Regions from separate parts of the Homo sapiens genome. Here region 2 is linked to region 1. The links are contacts of gene promoters, found by promoter capture Hi-C in human tissues and cell types (Jung and others, 2019). All regions are on one chromosome and are shown on one strand. Each heading gives the region's core, a stretch centred on a gene start or on the middle of the fragment in contact. The rest is flanking DNA. Distances are from core to core; before and after follow the strand shown.

Region 1 (7,405 bases), core at 3,258-5,757:
TTCATTAATTCTCAGCTTTATATAGTTGCAACGCGATGTTGCCCTTTGGCATGTTAGCATTAAAATTAACACTTATTTTTGAAGAAGTCATCATAACCCTGGCAAACCATTTCTAACTGCAGTATGTGAGGTCTCCTGCATCTTAAATGGCTTGTGGAGGCACCTCTGGAAATAGTCAATTGCCTGTGGAAACCAGCAAACCAGGGCCAATCACAAACCACAATTACACTTGCTCAGCTGCTTGTGGAGCCAAACTGATGGAGCTGAAACTTCATTTTTGCTTCTGCTTTTTGCTTTGATTTGATTTTTAGAAAAGAAAGAAAAATATAAGATGCTACTATCTGAGAATCTCAGCAACATGCTGGCAGATCTCAGTGCCCCCTCACTCTCAAAGTATCTCTCCTGCCTAGAGCTCACAGAAGGCTTCCTCCTTGGTGGACATGACCATTTATTACTTCTCAGACTCCATGTTAACTGAAATCTGGTGTGGATGGCTTTCGTACCTCAGTGCGATGGAGTGTTTTATCATTTTCTGTTTATTTGTTTGTCCTGTTACCAGGCTGTAGAGCAATGGCGCGATCTCGGCTCACTGCAACCTCCACCTCCCAGGTTCAAGTGATTCTCCTGCCTCAGCCTCCCGAGTAGCTGGGACTACAGGCGCGTGCCACCATGCCCTGTTTGTTTGTTTTTGAGACGGGGTCTCGCTCTGTTGCCCAGGCTGTAGTGTAGTGACACAATCAGAACTCACTGCAGCCTTGACTTCCCCGGCTCAGGTGATCATCCTACCACAGCCTCCTGAGTAGCTGGGACTACAGGTGCACACCAAAATTCTTGGCTAATTTTTGGTATTTTTTGCAGAGATGGGGTTTTGCTACGTTGCTCAGGCTTGCTTGAACTCCTGAGCTCAAGTCATTTGCTTGCCTTGGCCTCCCAAAGTGCTGGGTTACAGGCATGAGCCATTGCACCACACCATTAACAGCTTCCTTCACTGGAAGATGCATTTCTGTTTTTGTTGTTATTTCAAACCAAACAGCTTTGTTAATTTAGGAAGTTTCCAATGGTGCGGCCCCTACACTCGGATACTATGACCACACATTGGAGGCAAACACAAACAACTATACAGCAACAATAGAACATGTGTCTAAAATAAATTTCTAACAATGTATCCTTTAATAGTTAGACTCATACTTTATTTTGACAAATTTAAGATAGAAAAATATCATAATGTGAATATAGCAGTTGCTCTTTTTGTAACATGGTTTGGGATGTGCAGTGAAACTTGAAAGGACTTGCTTTACAGGTGGTCCCTCTTCTGGCTGGGTTTCAGTTAATTCTGAATTATATTCCAGCCATTGCATTTGCTTGAAAGAATATTGGACACAGTAAAAAAAAGAACAGGTTTGGCATTCAATAATAAATATTATAAAGCAATGAACCAAAACAACTTTTAAAATAATTACTGAAAGCAAACTTCAGACTTCATGATTAAAGCTAAGAACTCATATTTTCAAAATAGCTTTAACAGTTTCTATCAATATATAATACAATAATAGGACACTTATTTTTAAAAAACAAGTGAGTAGAATCAGAGTAAATATGATATTTCAGATGACTATAAACAGTAAACATCAATTCAATATATTTATATATCATTTCAGCAATATACTCTTTGCCCAGCTGGCGATAAAAACTGTAGTTCTATCATCAAAAAATGCATCCCTGAATGTCATCTTTGAACTTACTAAGTGCTGTCATCATTTCTACACTCCATCTTTGGAGGGGGTGGCTTAGGGACTCTTGGTACATGCAGATATTTAGTTATGGTTATAATGACAAAAAGTAAATGTGCCAGGAGTCTGAAGCAGAAACGTTGCCTTACTTTGTTAAGTAGCTTCACATTCTTTTGTCTCTGTGATGCCTCAGGTGAAGTCACACTAAATAATTCACACAGGTGCTAATTTTGTTGCTCTGTGTCAGTACCTTTCAGCTTCTTTCTTTTCTTCCCTTCCCCACTCCTCAAAGAATAAAACGGGGAGGCCTCTCATTAAAACACGTCATTTCTAACATATAAAATAAGTGTATGCACATAGGTACGTACATGCACCTCCTTCTCAAGGACTGGGTAACTCCTCGTTTTCTATCAAATAATCCTTCTTCATATACCTGGTTCCCCTAACCAACCTCCATACCTCGAGGTAAGCATCTTTTAACGACCTCCTGCTCCCTTCTTCAGAGCTCCCAGCCACCAGCGGGACTCCTCGGGGGCTGCCCCTGACCTCTTGCCTGCTCTCCTGAGCGGGGCCACCTGCTGCCTCCCCACCTTCTGACCGGCCATTTCCTCCCTCCCCGGGCAGCTCCTCCATCACGAACGGCAGCTGGTCTCCACTTAGCTGCGCCTCCTCTCCCCGAGGCTGGGCCTCCAGGTCCTCGTAGTTGCTTTGCTTTCTGGTCTCCATGAACTTGGCCACACAGTAAATGATAGAGCCCAGGGTGTTCACCACCACGCCGGCAATGAACAGAGAGGTGGGCTCCACGTCGCTGAAGGCCACCATGCCCACCGTGATGGTGGCGATGCTCTTCACCACACCCACGAAGCTGGTGGTCACGGCCGAATTGATGTAGGTGCAGTGCAGCGTGGTGAAGTTCATGGCGCAGCCGATCAGGATGCAGGCCACGAAGATGCAGACCATGGCCGGGTCCTTCCAGCCCGGGAAGGTCCAGGCGTGGATGGAGTCGGTGCTGGCGAAGGAGCAGATGACCAGCAGCGGGGTGGCAGAGACGGCGATGACGTACTGCGCGGTGAGCGGCCCGTGCTCGGTGTCTGCGCTGGCCTTCTGGATGAGCACCAGGTAGGCAGCGTGCACCAGCACCGCCAGCACTCCCGTGACGTACCCGATGGGGTCGCCCGTCAGGTCGCCGGCTCCTGCGGCGCACGAGGAGGACGGCCGAGCCCGGGCGGGAAGGAAAAAGAGAGAAGACAGCAGGTTGGCGTGGGCGGGGACCCACGGGGAAAACGCGTCGGGTAGGAAAGGAGACTGGGTTCGCGCCCCAGCTCTGCCCACCGGATTCCTGAGTGACAGACGCCCGCCGTCCCTCGGCCACCCGTGTCAAATGCGACAGCCAAACTCAGTGCTCAGAGCGCCTTCCCGCCATATCCCCGGGTCACTCCATCTTCCTCTGTCCAAGACAAAGGCCCCGGAGAGCGCAGATGCCCTCGGGGCAGGTGCTGTGGCTTCCCCGAGCTGGCACCGAGGTCACTTGGGCGCGTGGTACCTGCACCCCGGAGCCCCTGCCCCGTGGGGCACCAAAGGGAGAGGGAGCCCCAGCCAGTGGCCTGCAACCCGGAGCGGGCCAGGCGCGGGGGAGAACGCCTGTTCTGGCCCCCAGTGAAGCTTCCCCCTGCCCAGGCTCTCGTCTCGCTCAGCACCTGGGTCGTCTGCCCCAGGGCCGCAGCCCCCTGCGCAGCACGAGACACCCCGCAGTAGCCCCGGGAACCCTCAGCTTCGCCCCCATCCCCCACCTCCATTCCAGCCCCTCGTGACCCAAGGAAGTTCACGGCCCCCTCCTTCCGGCTTGGTCCAGGCTTGGAGGACTCCAGCTCCCAGGCTCAGGCGGCCCTCCCACCTCTCCCGGAGAATGGGGTGACAGGGGAAGACCAGGAGAGGGGGCGACAGGAAGGGCGATGCCGGGTGAAGCATGGGCGAGGGTCGGAAGCCAGGACATTAGGGGGCAGGGGGACTTGGTGGGGCGCTGGGGAGCTCTCTGGGTCTCGGAAGTCCCTTTTGCGAGCTGAGCGACCACTCTCAAAGCTCTCCGGCTCTCTCTGCCTCAGTCTCCCCATCTGGAAGTGAGGTCGTTGAACTCAGTGATCCCCGCGGTCTCTGCCCGACGGAGCGGGGTGGGTGGGGTCGGCTGGGGGTCGGCGCGGGGGCCCGCTCACCTGCCAGGGCGGCGCCGCAGGTGGTGATGAGCACCGCCGCCAGCACCCCTGGCGAGGGCGCGCCGTTCTTGAGCACCAGGACGCCGATGAGCATGGTGACCAGGGGCAGGCAGCGCTTGAAGACCACGTACATGGGCAGGCTGAGGCCGCGCAGGGACCAGAGCGTGAGGCTGGACTGCAGCGTGGAGAGCACCGCGACCCCCGCGAAGGAGCGCGCCAGGCTCAGACCGAAGGGGGGCACGGCGATGAGCCCGAGGCGCCGCAGCAGCTCCAGGCTCAGCGCCGCGGTGGAGCTGGTCAGGCACTGCACCAGGGTCAGGAAGGAGAACTGGTAGCGGCTGATGAGGAACTTGAGCAAGATGTTGAGGGAGCCCGAGAAGACCCCGTGCGCGATGGCCACCGAGATGCCCAGCACGCGGCCCCGGCACAGCTGCCGCATCGCGCCGGCCTCGCCGCACCCAGCGGTGGCGGAGCTCCGCGACCTGCGCGCGAGGAGCCGGGAGCAGCGGAGTGAGGGCGGCGGGGGCGCCCGCCCAGCGCGGCGGCGAAGGGCAGGGGGCGCCGGCTCGGCTGCAGAGGGCAGCTCCGGCCAGGCGTTCTTGCGGTTAGGCAGCTCTGCGTCCGACTGCCCCGCAGCTCCGGGGAGGCAGTGACGAGGGCGGGGGACTCCGAAAAGTGGCAGAGGTGGCGGGGGGGCCGGTCTGAGAGGAGTGGCGGGAATCCTAGCGACAGCTATTTGTAAGTGGGTGATGAGCCGCGGTGGGTTGTGTCCCGCGCGGTTTCACCGTCAGGGAAGACGCTCTGCGGAGGGAAGCGGGCGGCTGGGCGCCCCGGGGCGGCTGCCGCAGGGCGGGACGGGGGCTCTTGGGGCGCGGCGCCCCTCTCCCCCCACAGAGCCAGCGGCTCTCGCTTGCCCCTTCCTCCTGGCCGAGGGGCTTGGGTTGGAGGGATCGGGACACAGCTAAAGATTTTAGAAACAGCGCATCAGGATCGAGCGCCGTTTATTGGTCGCAACAAGTGACGGCGCCCCCAGCCCCCTCGCCCCGGCGCTGCAGCGGCTTTTTCCACCCACTGTCCCTCCCGGTGCAGCGGCGGGACCTCGTCCAGCTGCCCGCCAGGGAAGCGAAAACCGTCGGTGCCGGCGGGCCCCCGAAGCTCCCGATCCCGGCGACGACGCCCGGGCATCGGAGGAGGAACCCGCGGCCCGGGGCGCTGTCCAGGGGGTGCCTCGGAGCCCGGAAGCTGGCTCCTTCCGGTGCCAGGCCACGCGCACCGCTCTCCGCACGCCTTCCAGAGAGGGTCCCGGGATTATGCGCGCGGCTCCGGGGAAGCTTTCAGGGGGTTCAGTGGTCTCGCCCAGCAGCGGGGCCTGGTGGCGGGGACACATTCGAACTGAGGCAAAGATGAAAATAAGCAAACGCGCAGAAACGAAGTCACTAACACGAGTAGCCACCACCAGGAACCGAGGAGCTCGGGGGCGACGCTTCCCGAAGCGTGGGAGGGGAGGCTGGCTGCGCTCGCAGAATGGGAGAGTAGAGGGGGAGGGGGCGGGAACCCGGGGCCCCTCACCCTGCAGGGAGACTCCGCGTGGCGTTCTCCGGATCCCAGGGAACTGATCCCAGGGAACCCTCACCCTGCGGGACCGTCGTGGGTTGCTTTCGGAAGCAGGACAACCGGCAGGCGGAGGGCGGGGAGAGTCACCACCTCCCTGGGCCAGGGTTCACACCTTTGCACCACAGGACTTGTGAACTGTGTGTTTCCTATATGACTAAGAGAAAAAGGGAATTCTAATTTTGGAGAGGGAGTAAGGCTTCGGTAACTCTTTGTTCTGAATTCAGTTCCCTGGAAAGTAACTCGCGCGGACCTGTAGTTAAATCAGCAGCAGCCAAGGGTTTCGCTCAGCCGAGGTAACCGTTAAGCGCCAGACAGTTTGGTTTTCAGGCGATTTGAAATTTGTGGCCTTGGCCAGGGTTTGGCTATAAGGGAAAGGTTCGAGATCGCTGCGCTCCAGCACCCCTTTCGTTCACCACCAGCAGTTTATTTCTCTTAGCCCCGGGAATCGTAACCTCCTAACCTTTTAGCGCTGCATCACGTTGCCTTAATAGACAGGATCCATTTCTCTCGTGGTTCTTCTGTTTTCTGCCTCTTACTTCCACCTCTGTGCTGAACGCGACACTTCAGCCAAAGTGCTGAAGTCGTGATTTACCGCAACAGAGGAAGAAAAAAAAATTACAGCAGGGATCAGCAGCATCACAGCAGCCCTTCATTTGGGCCAGCATTTGGGGCTCTGGATGCTCACTTTGGTGAGCTCTAGAGAGCTCGGGGTCAACCAGTCCACCAGCTTATGTGCCCGGTGCCTAGGAGGGCCACGTCCCTGCTCCCGACAGGTGGGCACTCAAAAAAAGTTTGTGAATGGCCCAGGGTGCCAACTTTCCAGGAATAGCTGGAAAGCATTATACTGAAACACGTGCTTCCGGTTCTCTGGGGAGCCCTTGGTTTTTGTTGCTAAAACTTGTGGTTACACACTATTGGCTGTTTAAGTGACTCTGTTTTTGTAGAGTTAATGTTATTTAGGAAATAATGAAGTCTGAAGCACCAGTTCAAATTATGTGTATGTGTGTGGTATAGTCAAAATATATTGATTCAAAACTCTGAAAATTAACTTTTTACAGATATCAGCAAATAACAGATTTCTGCTTCTAGAGACTATCCCAATAAAAGCATGGCTGCTTTAAGCCATCCTAAGTGCATATTATTAATATAAAGAAGTGGCTGCACAAACCTACTTTTGGAATGATTCATTTCTGCCCGCAATTATAATTGCATCCATTTGTGATACTAACATTAGGTAAAAGATTTGGGGCTGATTCAGCTATCTTACTCTTCTCATTTATGCAAGACAATTTAGCTTAATATTTGAAACCTACAGAGGCATAAAACCGCACATTTTCTCCACTTTGTTGCATGCAATTCTTTTGGAAAGAAAAAAACCTTAACCCCCATCTCCCACAAAACCAGATACTAGATGAGCTCCTTTTAAAAATTGTGAAAAATTAAGAATACCATGTTTAGCGAGGTTAAATGATCTAGATGAATAAAAATGTAGATCTAAAGGTTAAATAGCTATTTGACCTATTGGTATCAGGGTACCAAGGGTCTAGACTCAAGCACATCACCTTTGGAGCTACTTAATAAATATTAATGACATTAAATAAATCCTTTAGTTTATCCATTCATTCAACAAACATATAGTACAAGTATTTTGTGCTAAGTATTCTGTTAGCCACAGAGGACTTAAAGATGAACACAGCGCCTTCATCCTTAGCAACAGTGGGATTGTGTGGCAGAAAAGGGGGGAGCGCCAGGAGGGCAAGTACATCAGCTTGACAGCAGTAGCAGACAAAGCTTCCTGGAGAAGGAATTACAGTGTCTTTGAAAACTTACTTCATTATTTCTAATTATAAA
Region 2 (7,405 bases), core at 1-2,500, 57 kb after region 1:
AACCATAATAATGTATAGGAACTATTCAAATGAAGGAATACAAAAAGTGACGTTGCACCGTGATAATGCTATTAGGAGGAAAATTTGAATCTCACGCTGAGATAAACACAGTATTGACTAAACACACAGCTGGTGTGTGTTCGAGGCAGGAAAGGCCCTGAAAATTCTCGTGTTAGGAAATAAAGTGATCACTCTGTACCAGTGTATTGTACTAGAAACCAACAATAGAGTAACAATTTTACTGCTAAAGGCGGGCAAAGTCTACCAAGCCAAAATGGAGAATTTTTTACTTTTCATTGTCAAGTATACTATATTTTAACGGGCCAGCTATAAGTGTATTTTTCTCCTCAAAAAAAAAAGCTAAAAAATTTTATTTATTTATTTTTATGTATTTATTTATTTATTTCGAGACAGAGTCTCACTCTGTCGCCAGGCTGGAGTGCAGTGGCACGATATCGGCTCACTGTAATCTCCGCCTCCCAGGTTCAGGTGATTCTCCTGCCTCAGCCTCCCGAGTAGCCAGGACTACAGGTGCACACCACCACGCCCAGCTAATTTTTGTATTTTTAGTAGAGACGGGGTTTCGCCATGTTGGCCAGGATGATCTCGATTGCCTGACCTCGTGATCCACCCGCCTCAGCCTCCCAAAGTGTTGGGATTACAGGCATGAGCCGCAGCGCCCGGCCTATTTATTTATTTTGATATTTTTTTGAGACAGAGTCTTGCTCTATTGCCCAGGCTGGAGTGCGGAGGCACGGTCTCAGCTCATTGCAACTTCCACCTCCTGGGTTCAAGCAATTCTCATGCTTCAGCCCCCCAAGTAGCTGGGATTACAGATGTGTGCTACCACGCCCAGCTAATTTTTGTATTTTTAGTAGAGATGGAGTTTTAGCCAGGCGTGGTGGCTCACGCCTGTAATCCCTACCCTTCGGGAGGCCAAGGTGGGCAGATCACCTGTGGTCAGGAGTCTGAGACCAGCCTGGCCAACATGATGAAACCCTATCTCTACTAAACAAAAAATTAGTTGGGCGTGGTGGTGGCGGGTGCCTGTAATCCCAGCTACTGGGGAAGCTAAGGCAGAAGAATCACTTGAACCTGGGAGGCAGAGGTTGCAGTGAGCCGAGATTGTGCCACTGCACTCCAACCCAGACAACAAGAGTGAAATTCTATCTCAAAAAAATAAATAAATAAATAAAGAGTGAGAGAGATGGGGTTTCACCATGTTGGCCAGGCTAGTCTCGAATTTCTGACCTCAGGCAATCTTCCCACCTCAGCCTCCCAAAGTACTGGGATTACAGGTATGAGCCACCATGCCTGGCCAACAAGCTAAAAACATTTAAAGATTACACTTTGCATTATTACAAAAACAGTTTGCATTACTTAATTGCACAGACACCCAATTAAATGTTTTACATGTTGTTTGCCTCCAGTTTTTCTAAACTATGAGGAAACAAAAGATGACAAGATGAATAAAATCCAGAATATATATACCTACCTCAAAAGTAAAATATAAACAACTGATGATGTGAGAAAACCAGTTCCATGTAATGAAAAGCATGTAGTTTCTGGCATGATAGCAGGTGGGGACTTGAATGCCATTTTGTGGTTATAGGATACATACCCTGCATAGGATACGTAATATCTCTGAGACTGATTCATTCTAAAGGAGACACAGAATGCCCAACATGCAGCGCTGTCTAAGAATTTCATCACGTTTCTGTAAAGCACCTAGCATGGTCTCTAACACATACTAGAAACTGCCAAATACGGTATATAAAAATGCTAAATTTTTAAAGTATCTTTCACTTATCTACATATATTTTCCTATATTCCCAATTCTAAATCATATATTGTTAAGCTAAATTTAGCTATCCTAGGCAATTTTTTCCTGGCTTCTTCGGAAGTTGCTTAAGAAAGATAAGAAATGTGTTGGCAGTAATGAAATGCAGAGGTTAAGAACAGGGCCTTTGGAGTTCCTGAGCTTGGTTCTAATCCAGCTCAATCATTTGGTGGCCACTGATGCTTAATCAAGTTATTTCGCTGATCTTCAGTTTCCTACCTACAATAAAATAACTGCCTTGTAAGGCTGAAATGAGACAAGGTAGTAGCATGAGTACGGTGCCAGATACGCAAAAGATATGCAGTAAGCTCTCAATATGTGTGTTTTTTTTTTATGAGAAAAAATACCCATGATTAGAAGTTATTTATGTCCCCCCAATAATAACAACATGAATAATAGTTAATATTTGAGTGCTTCCAATGTGCCACATACTGTTCTAAGCATTTTATACATATTTTTTCTAAAAACATCACAACTACATAAAGTAGGAATTTGGAGATATAAAAGTAATTGTATAGTACTATACAAATGAGGAATATAGTACTATACAAATGCAGCATATAAAGATGAAATAACTCACCCAGGATAGTAAGCAACAGAACCAGGACCTGGAACCAGAACCCAAGGAGTCTGGGTCCCCAGCATGCACACTTTACAGCTTTACAACTACACTGCGCTGCTGCCTCCTTGTGTTGCTGGACGACAAATGCCATACAATCAATGTTGGCTAATTCTGGAGGAATTATTTTAATTCTTTTAATTTCCAGGCTGGAGTGCAGTGATGCGATCTCAGCTCACTGCAACCTCCACCTCCCAGACTCAAGCAATCCTCCCATCTCAGCCTCCCAAGTAGCTGCGACTACAAGCGCACACCACCATGCCCCTGCTAATTTTTCTATTTTTGGCAGAGACGGGGTTTTGCCATGTTGTCCAGGCTGGTTTCCAGCTCCCGAGCTCAAGCAATCCACCTGCCTCAGCCTCCCAAAGTGAGGGGATTACAGGTGTGAGCCACTGCATCCAGCCCTGTATTACTTTTTCTATAAATCGGAGAAAAATTTCTATTATATTTTCAATACCACTTCCCATCCTCCCTGCCCAGAGGCCACAACAGTCATGAATTTGGTCCACAGCCCTTTAGTTTGCATTTTGGTAATACTTTTATTATATTTTTATGGATCCATAAATACGTACTACTACTGCTTTGTATGTAGGATTTTTTTTCCTTTTTTGATTTAAAAATACTGTCCTGCTACATTAAAAAAAGGTTGAAAACCACTTTGATAGATGAGAGTAACAAACATTTTTGGACCTAGCTAAGGATGGTACCTCCGTCCATAGCACCTCATTCCTTGCTCAGACCACAGCTGACAGGCCAAATGGGGGTACTTGGGATTTTTCTTACTACAACTGAAAAATAATGTCAGTCCCTCTTCTATGGCAGAACTGACAAGTTATAAAATTCAGGACCCACTAGTGACAACATATCTCATTGTGAAAAATGAATGATAAGTTTGAAAGTACCAAAAGGAAATTGTTCAGAATTGGTACAGGTTAGAGCTTCAAATAACTCCAACGGCCCTCATTATAATCACTGTCTGTGGTCTAGCCACCAGTCAGTAGAATCTGCTTCTAGAATTCCAAATAGCTTTGATGAAATGATCTCTCATGACTTTCTCCAGCCTTCAGTGTATAATGCAGGGTGACGTGGATGTCCAGTGTTTGGCCTGCCCAGAAATACCCTTTTTCTAGGAACAGCATGTCCTTTTCTCACCAAGTGATTCTATAAAGACTTACACCTCAACACAATTGACTGACCAAAGGCAGGTCCAGGCAAGACCAACCACAGTACCTCATTCCCTGCTTTGACTACAGCTGAAAGGTCAAAGGCAGGTACTTGGGATTTTTCTGAACTATAACTGAAAAAATAATGTCTGTCCTCTTATGGTAGCATTTACAACTTATAAAATTCAGGAGGCTGGGCATGATGGTTTACACCTGTAATCCCAGCACTTTAAGGGGCTAAGGCAGGAGGATCACTTGAGCCCAGGAGTTCGAGATCAGCCTGAGCAACATAGTGAGATTCCAGCTCTACAAAAAATTTAAAAATTAGCCAGGCATGGTGGCACACACCTGTAGTCCCAGCTACTCTGGAGGTTGAGGTAGGAGAACTGCTTGAGTCCGGGAGGTCAAGGCTGCAGTGAGCCATGATCGCACCACTGTACTCCACCCTGGGTGACAGAACAAGACCCTGTCTCAAAAACGTAAAAATATGGCCAGGCACAGTGGCTCATGCCTGTCATCCTAGCACTTTGGGAGGCTAAGGCAGGTGGATCACTTGAGGCCAGGCGTTTGAGACCAGCCTGGCCAACATGGCAAAACCCTGTCTCTACTAAAAATACAAAATAAATAAATAAATTAGCCAGGCATGGTGGCACACGCCTGTAATCCCAGCTACTCAAGACGCTGGGGCATAAGAATTACTTGAACCCCAGGGGTGGAGGTTGCAGTGAGCTGAGATCACGCCCCTTAACTCCAGCCTGGGCAATGGAGCAAGTTTCTGTCCCCCCAAAAAAAAAACTATATATATATAATATATATATATATAATATATATAAAATATATATATATAAATACAGAAAAAATATATATATATAGCTTTGATGAAATGATCTCTCATGACCTTCTCCAGCCTTCAGTGTATAATGCAGGGTGACGTGGATGTCACGCTGCATTATACACTGAATATATATATAAACATAGTGAATTTATATATATTTATATATATATAAATTCAGGAGCCACTAGTGGCCATGTGTCTCACTGTGTGGAGAAAGCCAGTCTGCAGAGCCAAGTCAACAAGTAGAGAAAAGTCCAGATGAGAAACAGAATGTGTCCTGGGGCCTTTCAAACAGCCCTTCCCTTTCTGGAGTATGCTTTTTAACAAATTTCACAAAGATCTAACATAGTCCCAGTTCTATCACTTGCAGGCAAAGGAAATCACTCTTTATCATAAGGGAGCGAAGGGTATTCTCCTAAAGCGTCAGTCTCCTGAAACTAGCTAAAAAAAAACCATTTAATTAAGCTCGAGGTTTCCATTAAAACATACAAAATGCCTAAATAATATATACTAACTTTCAGGAATTTATATCTAATACTAGGTTAAAAGTATAAATTCTGCTATAGCTATAGCATTGTCTCAAGATCAATGAGCTTGGGTTCACCCTAATAAGATATGAGTATGTGAACTGACTTAAAGTACCAAAACAGGTCAGGCATGGTGGCTCACACTTGTAATCCTAGCACTTTGGAAGGTCAAGGCAGGCAGGTCGTTTGAGTTTAAGAGTTCCAGACCAGCCTGGGCAACCGTGAAATCCTGTCTCTACAGAAAATACAAAAATTAGTCGGGCTTGGTAGCATGCACCTGTAGTCCCAGCTACTCAGGAGGCTGAGGTGGGAGGACTGCTTGAGCCTAGGAGGCAGAGGCTACAATGAGCCAAGACTGTGCCGCTGCACTCCAGCCTGGGTGATAGAGCCAGACTCTGTCTCAAAAAATAAAAATAAAAAAATTTAAAAGTACCAAAACATTACAATGAATGCAGACTAGGAGATTAAGAACTGTTATTGTAGGAATAACATGGATGAGTCTCACAAGACATAATGTTGCATGAAAAAAACCAGTAACAAAGGTATGAAAATGGGCAACATTAATCCATGTTATTGGAAGGCCACACAGTGGTCACCTGGGGTGGGACGTGGTGAGAAGCGACTATAAGGATGGGAGGAGGCCCTCTGGGAACATTCTGTTTCTTCACCTGGGTGCCAGTTACAAGGATGTGTTCATTGTGAGAATTCACCAAATTGTATACTAAGATTATGCACTGTTCAATATGTGTATTATACTTCAATAAAAGATTAAAAAACACAATAACAAAGGTTGGGAGGTTTTGTTCCACACCACCACTTTCTTTCTTTTTTTTTTTAATTATACTTTAAGTTTTAGGGTACATGTGCACAACATGCAGGTTTGTTACATATGTATACATGTGCCATGTTGGTGTGCTGCACCCATTAACTCGTCATTTAACATTAGGTATATCTCCTAATGCTATCCCTCCCGCCTTCCCCCACCCCACAACAGGCCCCGGTGTGTGATGTTCCCCTTCCTGTGTCCATGTGTTCTCATTGTTCAATTCACACCACCACTTTCATGCAATATTTAAAAAAAAAAAAAAAAAAAAAGAGCCATGGCTTGAGCTGTCCCCTCTTGCAGTTAATTTAATGGGCACAAAAATGTGAAGACTGCTGGGCAGGAGCTGAGAATTCCACTTCCTTGACAGCAACTCCTGATGTAACCATTTGGCACTTCATCCTCGCCATTTTGTTTTCCAGGTAGGAAGGAGACCTAATGACCAAATGGTACAATGACTCATTCAGCTCTTTCAGCTGCCAGGACTTCTGTATTTATATTGTTTTTTCAATTGAATTTTCTAGACAACTGGCCTTTCATTGACAGGCAGACATTTATCAGGGCCCTGTGATGGTGCCATAGACTCACCTGAATTGCCAGCTTCTCTTATCAATTGCAGACCTGCCACTGACAGAACCAGTGAATTTTTTTTTCTTTTTTTTTTTTTCTGAGACAGAGTCTAACTCTGTCACCCAGGCTGGAGTGTAGTGGCTCACTGCAACCTCTGCCTCCAGGGTTCAAGCGATTCTCCTGCCTCAGCCTCCCAGTAGCTGGGATTACAGGCACCCGCCATCATGCCTGGCTAATTTTTTTGAGTTTTTAGTAGAGATGGGGTCTCACCATGTTGGTCAGGCTGGTCTCAAACTCCTGACCTCAAGTGATCCGCTCACCTTGGCCTCCCAAAGTGCTGGGATTACAGATGTGAGCCACTGTGCCTGGCCAGAACCAGTGAATTTAAATGTACAATATGGGCAAGGAAGTGCTGGCTGTTACTATGTCTAATTTCAAATTGCAGCAGGTACGAGGAAGTTGCATAAGGAGAATGAGTGTAAACATAAGAGTCTAAAACTGGGAAGTGAACTGAGTAGCAAAAGGGTACTTTGGGGCCAATATAACTTAACCGAAATGCCTTGTGCCTCTCAGATGTAATATGACTTTTTCTTACAGTAGAACGAGGTTTGCTTTAACTACTGGATCCCACACATTCAGGCATGGTTATGACTTACGCAACTAGATGGAGTCTGTGACAGCAATAATTTAGTTTTCATGATTCCAAAGATAATTTACTTCATATTAATCCTCTTCATAAAAAGAGCTCAAATATTCTTCCCTTCTATCTCATATAATTTAGAAATATGATGTCTGTACTAACACAACTATCATGAATTAGGCAAAATGCAATGTCTTTAGGCAACTCTGCTATGGAAGGTAAATCTAGATCTACTGGTAGTTCTCTAAAAACTTCCCCCATTTTGGCCTGTCTTAGCTTATCTAATGGTAACTAATTTGATGCTAGATTTGCAAAACTATACAACTTTGAAGATGACTAAATTCTTGGAGCAAACTAAATGCTACGTTCTCATATATTATCTTAAAAT

What was found. The method cuts DNA at HindIII sites, captures the fragments that hold promoters and counts their contacts. A contact is called where the count stands out against the background at its distance.
Region 2: a contact is called between a fragment that was not itself captured here and the fragment with the promoter of SLC35D3 in region 1, in 1 of the 25 tissues and cell types used here (H1 embryonic stem cells).

What each region holds. Positions count from the first base shown.
Region 1 is chr6:136,919,403-136,926,807 of GRCh38, reverse strand. It overlaps SLC35D3 (solute carrier family 35 member D3), which reads right to left and starts at 4,507. Exons shown (of 2, transcript NM_001008783.3): 1 at 3,941-4,507; 2 at 1,148-2,923. The coding sequence starts at 4,379. The coding sequence ends at 2,112. RefSeq lists an enhancer at 4,979-5,485. The HindIII fragment of the contact is 8,751 bases long and covers 1-6,308 here.
Region 2 is chr6:136,859,084-136,866,488 of GRCh38, reverse strand. All of the region lies in intron 5 of PEX7 (peroxisomal biogenesis factor 7), which reads right to left. Among named protein-coding and RNA genes, the nearest start is that of PEX7, 40 kb to the right of the region's middle. The HindIII fragment of the contact is 4,269 bases long and covers 1-3,384 here.